Linked DNA regions of Homo sapiens: region 2 is linked to region 1. Evidence: promoter capture Hi-C in 16 types of primary human blood cells and fetal thymus (Javierre and others, 2016). All regions are on one chromosome and are shown on one strand. The core of a region is centred on a gene start or on the middle of the fragment in contact, and the rest is flanking DNA. Distances in the headings are between cores, read along the strand shown.

What was found. The method cuts DNA at HindIII sites, captures the fragments that hold promoters and counts their contacts. A CHiCAGO score of 5 or more calls a contact.
Region 2: the fragment with the promoter of CD27 here is called in contact with the fragment with the promoter of GNB3 in region 1 in 2 of 17 cell types (activated CD4 T cells and total CD4 T cells); the score reaches 5.2 in activated CD4 T cells.

The regions. Positions count from the first base shown.
Region 1 is chr12:6,839,559-6,842,375 of GRCh38, reverse strand. GNB3 (G protein subunit beta 3) reads right to left here and starts at 1,451. Exons shown (of 10, transcript NM_002075.4): 1 at 1,343-1,451; 2 at 1,032-1,118; 3 at 752-790. The coding sequence starts at 1,088. It overlaps P3H3 (prolyl 3-hydroxylase 3), which reads right to left. Exons shown (of 15, transcript NM_014262.5): 15 at 2,529-2,817. The HindIII fragment of the contact is 12,557 bases long and covers 1-2,817 here.
Region 2 is chr12:6,443,689-6,446,497 of GRCh38, reverse strand. It overlaps CD27 (CD27 molecule), which reads right to left and starts at 1,543. Exons shown (of 6, transcript NM_001242.5): 1 at 1,267-1,543; 2 at 943-1,074. The coding sequence starts at 1,402. It overlaps CD27-AS1 (CD27 antisense RNA 1), which reads left to right. Exons shown (of 6, transcript NR_015382.2): 5 at 2,781-2,809. RefSeq lists enhancers at 263-382, 1,092-1,271, 1,302-1,361, 906-1,407, 2,312-2,361 and 1 more. The HindIII fragment of the contact is 1,289 bases long and covers 843-2,131 here.

The sequences.
Region 1 (2,817 bases), core at 202-2,701:
GATCTCACTATGTTGCCCAGGCTGGTCTCAAACTCCTGAGCTCAAGTGATCCTTTCACGTCAGTCTCCCAAAGGGCTGGGATTACAGGCGTGAACCACTGCGCCCGGCCTGCTTTGTTATCTTGGGCAAGTTGCTTCACCTCCCTGAGTCTGTTTACTCAAGGTGTAAAATGAGGCTTATCATAGCACCTACCTTACAGAGATATCATGAAAATTCAATGAAATCAGGTATTTATGCAGCTTAGCCCAGTATCTGGCTCATAAAAAGTGTTCACTATTAACATATTTAATCCAATCTAAGATGCATCACTAAGAAAGAAAAGATGCTGTCAATTCTAATTGAAACAATGATCCATTGCTGAATGCACCTTGATTTCAGAGATGTCAAAATGTGAAGAAATGTGCATCTTAGAATTGACAAAATACAGCATAGAAAACTAGCAGCTAGAGTCTACAAGGGCTTTATAATTTACAAAGTACTATCGCTTCTTCATCTTCAAGGCCCTGGGAGGGGGCTGTGGTCACTCTTGTTCTACGGATGAGAATAGGAACCGTGTCCGCATCTTTCGCATCCAATATGGTGCCTGGCTCAGAGCAGGTCCCGCTAAAATGTTGGTCGAATGAATTAATTAATGGGTTTCCTCACTCCAAGGACGTGCTGTACTAATGCTCGGAGCAACGCGCTATTGCGGGTCGGGGAGCTCCCTTCCCCTCCCCCCATGCCCTGCCTTCCGGGGGACAGGGGGTCTTACCTCTGCCAGAGTAACGTCAGCACAGGCTTTCCTGGCATCCTGCAGGGAAAGCAGACATCAGGGGAGCAAGGGCGAGGTGGGGGTGGCAGGTGCATGGGCCTTCAGGGCAGGTTGGTCTTGGGGCTCTGGGGCTTGGGGGTCTCAAATATGCGAACCAAGTTTAGAAAGTCCCTGGTCACTTCTAGTCACTCAAGAGCAAACCCAGCCCCCTCCCCCTGGGCCACGCTCCTCATGTCCCCAGCTGTTTTCTGGGGCCCCAGGGGTAGGGCTCTGGAGTTACTGCAATCTGCTTCTTGAGCTGCTCCGCTTCCTGACGCAGTTGCTCCATCTCCCCCATGGCTGACAGGTCGAGGGGTCACTCTGGCTCCTGCCAGGAACATGGGGTCGGTGTTGAGGAACCCCCCACCAGGCTGTGCTTCTGCCCTTCGTGCCCACACCAGACTCCAAGACACAGGGAAACGACTGGGTGGCTGCACCCTCTCCCCAGCTAGGCCCTCCAAGTTTGAGGTCCTTTGCGTCCAGCCCCAGCCTGCCTGAGCCCTGCCTGCGCCCCAGCCCAGGAGAGCAGAGCCCAGGCCAGCTCCCTCTTACTTGGGCTCTGGCTGGACCTCGGCCGGGTTTCCAGCTCCGGTTCCTGGGAGCCTCCTTACTCCCTCAGCTGCGACGCCCGCGCCCGCCCGTCACCTGCCCAGGCTCTGCTGCCAGAGGAGCTGGCCTGGCCTGGCCTGGCCCCGACCGGCGGGGGGTTGGGGGGGCCTGACAGGGAAGGGTAGAGCCAACCACAACGTCAGGCAAATGAAATCAGCTGGCAGGGGTGGGGGGAAGGGGTGGGGGGAGGGAGGGAGGTGTACGGATTCCAGAGAGACTTGGGCCCAGCCGGGAGGAGGGTTGGGGGCAGGAGTGTGGGGCCATAGAGAGGGGCAGCCCCCACCACAAGCCCTGAGAGAGGAGGGGGTGAAGGGGTGCTTCCCTGGTCAGTCTCTGCAGGCAGAGATAAGAGCATCAGGCCCCACAGGATTAGAGCAAAGCTGTGAGGATTAAGGGTTGGGGTTTGGGAGGGGTGCAAAGGAGCAGACAACTACAGCTCCAGTGGCCCCCCTGGTCCCGGCCCCCATCCATGGTGATGATCTTGGCAGTCAGGGCCACTTAGCAACCAGGCCAGGAGGTGGGATATAAGGGTGATAGATGGCCCCATTGTCAGTACCTCAAACTGTGCTCCTCAGCTCAGGGTGGTGGGGAAGAGGGTTTGGTGAGTATGGGAGGGTACAGGCAGGAGCTGAGATTAGAAAGGACTGATCTGGATAATCCTTCTTCTCGACAAACCCCAACCAGCTGCCTCTGGGTCTGATCCTGTTGGGGGAGAAAGGTACAGGGGACCCACAGAGAAGGATGGACAGGTCTGCCCCTATTGTGGGCGGGCAACGGATTTCAAGTGGAGGGAAGGCCCGCACGCTGCTCCCAGGCTGGGGTCTGGCCCCCTCCTTGCCCTCTCGAGGCTGTGAAAGCAGGGGTCAGAGAGAAAGCAGGCGGCCCTAAGTCTCAGCAAAGCTCAGAGAGGGAAGACAGGGCTTACACTTGGAGGCCTAAGGAGCAGCTGCCAGGGGCTTGGGTCATTTGCATGAGGGGAGCAGGTGGCTGAGATTTCCCTGACAAATCACAGGCTCCAGGCGCCCCGCCTCTGGGAGGCCCAAAGACACCTGTCTCCTCCCAGGCCAGCCAGAGCCACCCCCACCTCCAGCCATCACAGAATCTGTGATACACTTGACTGGCCCCTGGCTGAGAGATCTTCACGACCTTTATTGCACAGACTGGGAGAGAGGAGCAGGGTTATACCTCCCAACCCCACCATCCTCTTCATTTAAAGCATCAGCCTCCTCCCCTGCCATTTCTGTTCAGGGAGGCACAGTGTTCCCCATCTGTCCAGGGCTGCAGGTCCGGCAGCGGGGCCCCGTCCCAGCTCCCCAGGCCTGGTGAGCTCCAGGCTAGCCTGTGCACTGTCCTCTGAGTCCAGGCCCTTGTAGGTCCCCAAGATGGTGGGGGTGCAGGGACAGAGAGCTTGCTGTTCT
Region 2 (2,809 bases), core at 294-2,793, 400 kb after region 1:
CTGGTGTTGGTTTTTGTTTTTGTTTTTACGGGACCAGGCACTACAGCTCACACCTGTAATCCTGGCACTTTCAGAGGCTGAGACTAGAAGATTGCTTGAGCCCAGGAGTTCAAGGCTGTGGGGAGCTATGATTGCACCACTGCACTCCAGCCTGGGTGACAGAGCTAGACCTTGTCTCTAAACTAAACAAAACAAAACCCAGTACCAAGAGACCCAGTGACACCAAACACGTTTTGCAAGTAGGTAGTTTAATAGTTACAGTTACCTGGTTCTAAAAAGTGTCTTGCTAGAGAACATTTGTTCAAAGGGGCCACTTTAAAGCCTGCTATTCTAGTGTATACTGGCCGTAGTTTCTGAAATTGTAGCGAAGATGGAGAAATAATAACAGCATTCATAAGCACAACTGCAGATATTATACTTCTTAGTTTAAAAAAAACCTTTTTTTTTGGAACTATAAAATAAAAACACAGGCTACATACATACTCATTTTCTCAAATTGGCTTTTGTGCAAAAAAAGGTTGTTACCTATTGGGTTGCTTTGTTATTTCCTTAGAAAGATGTATTCCAAATTCCCAATGGCCAACCTGCACATGTGCACTCTGGGAACACAGTCAGTTTATTGGTTGGGGGTTGCTTGCCCGAAATCTGGGGTCATAGAGCCACTTCTCTCATTTTATTGTCTTGATCCTATCCATAGACCCGTTCTCACCAATCCCTCAAATTCTATTTATCCCTTTCCTGGAATACTAGATGTCTGCCCACGTTAATTCATGCCCCACCTAGGGTGCCGCATTTCCCAGCATTGGCTCCACTTGCTGTGAGCCTTGAAGAAGGCCAAAGCTTTGGCCCCGTCATCCTCCTTGCACCCCCAAACCCGTCACCAGCCTTGCTCCCCCAGATGCTTGTCCATCGTCCCCACCTACACACCCTTGCCCACCTCACCAGAGTTACAGTGCCGACAGCTCTCACAGTGGGGCCGGGTGTGGTGGTCAGGAGAGAAGGAGACCCCCGGTATGCAAGGATCACACTGAGCAGCCTTTCTATGCTGGTCACAGTCCTTCACGAGGAATGTTCCTGGGAGGAGAGGGTAAGGGATCAAGGCCTGAGAAGGGCTGGTTCTCTGCCCTCTTCAAGGTGGTGCCTCCCCACAGCTGCAGGATTTCCCTCCTTGCTTGAGCTCAGTCTCACCCTGCGCCTATTTACTGTATTAACCCCAGTCCTCTCTCTTTCGCCACTCACCTGGCCCTTACCAAGGCCCCCTCTTACCTGGCTCACACATCTGGCAGCACAGCTTTCCCTGAGCCCAGTAGTGCCTCTCTGGGCAGCTCTTGGGGGCTGGAGTAGCTGAGAGCCCCACCAGGGTCCCCAGAACGCACAGCCACCAGGGATGTGGCCGTGCCATGGTCCCTGCCCAGGCGGCTCCTTTCTGTGCCCAGTTGCTGATGCTGGCCTCTGGAGTTAGCACCTCCAAGCTGGGCGCTGCTGTCTCTTCTTTGCACCCCCTGGGCAGTGGCTGCTTCAGGTGGCAAGCCAACCTTTGAAGGCAGAATCTCTATTGTGGCTGTTTTTTTTTTCTCTCTCATAGCAGCAACCTCCACCCCCTTCCCCTTCCGTGTGCTGGGGAGAGTATTAAAGAGCAAACTCTGTGAGACCTGCTGCTCTTCAAACATGCTTCCTCCAACACATGAGCCTTCCTTAGTTTCCGCCTCTCCTGCTCATGAAGCACGTAGCCCACTGACTCCTGCTTCTTTGACAAAAAGGTGATGGACACACAGTTGCTCACCCCTCCTATTCATGCACTTGTGCACAAAGGTGCCCACGTTACCCCCCCCCACCCACCCCCCCGTCCACAGTTTACAGACGAATTCGCAGGACTCCTGTCTCCCATACCTGCATCCCTCCTTTCACAGACAACAGTTGAAAGAAGGAAGGAGAACCAGAATTGAGCACAGGTCCACAAGCTCTTATCTGAAACTTTGGGGGTCAGATAAGTTTTGGAATTCAGAATTTTTCAGGTTTATACAGAAACCAGCACCACAAAACACCCTTGGGGAGTTGGGGTAGTCTCATAATCAAACGCAACATTTCTGCAGCAAAACTATTGAATATTTACACCAACTGGGAGGAAGCTTAAATAGCCTTGTCTCAATTGAGGTCTGGTTTGATGGCCAAACGAGTTTGCTACAGAATGCTCAGAATTGCAAGCAAGGGGTGTAGAGCTGCCTCTCTTCTGTCACACTCTGACCGATCACCTATGCTCTCCTTTAATCCTCATGTCAGTCTCTGATGTGGGTGCCACCTACTGCCCACATGGCCTTCCCTCTCAGACCCTTGCTCACTCCTCACTTTTGTGCCATCTTTATCCTCCCCTTTCCCACCTCTGGCTGTGTCAGTCACTGGTGTCCTGGATCGCCTGGAGCATCTTCTCTCCTAGCCTTGGGCACTTGGGATTAAAGGTAGCTTCCTACGGGGGTCATCTCTTTTTTATTTTCCCAGTTCTCCCAGCAAGACTGATTTCGGGATATTGGAAACAGCTAGACTTTTCCCTCTTTGAGTCATGGGGACACACACGGGTCAACAGCCTCCTCCACTCTTTCCTCAGCAACCGATATGTGGAGTGGCTTATTTCCCCAGGAAGTTTTTAATTTAGGGGCTTTGCCGTTGTTTCCACACTGTTCATAAATGTCACACTGCTGTGGTCACACCTGTCAGATCTGTTCTCTATCTCACTCTGTAGTTTCCTTTCTCCTCATTTTCTCCATTCTCTTGTCTTTTCCCAGCCCCCTCTGCAGCTCTTCATGGGGGTCCA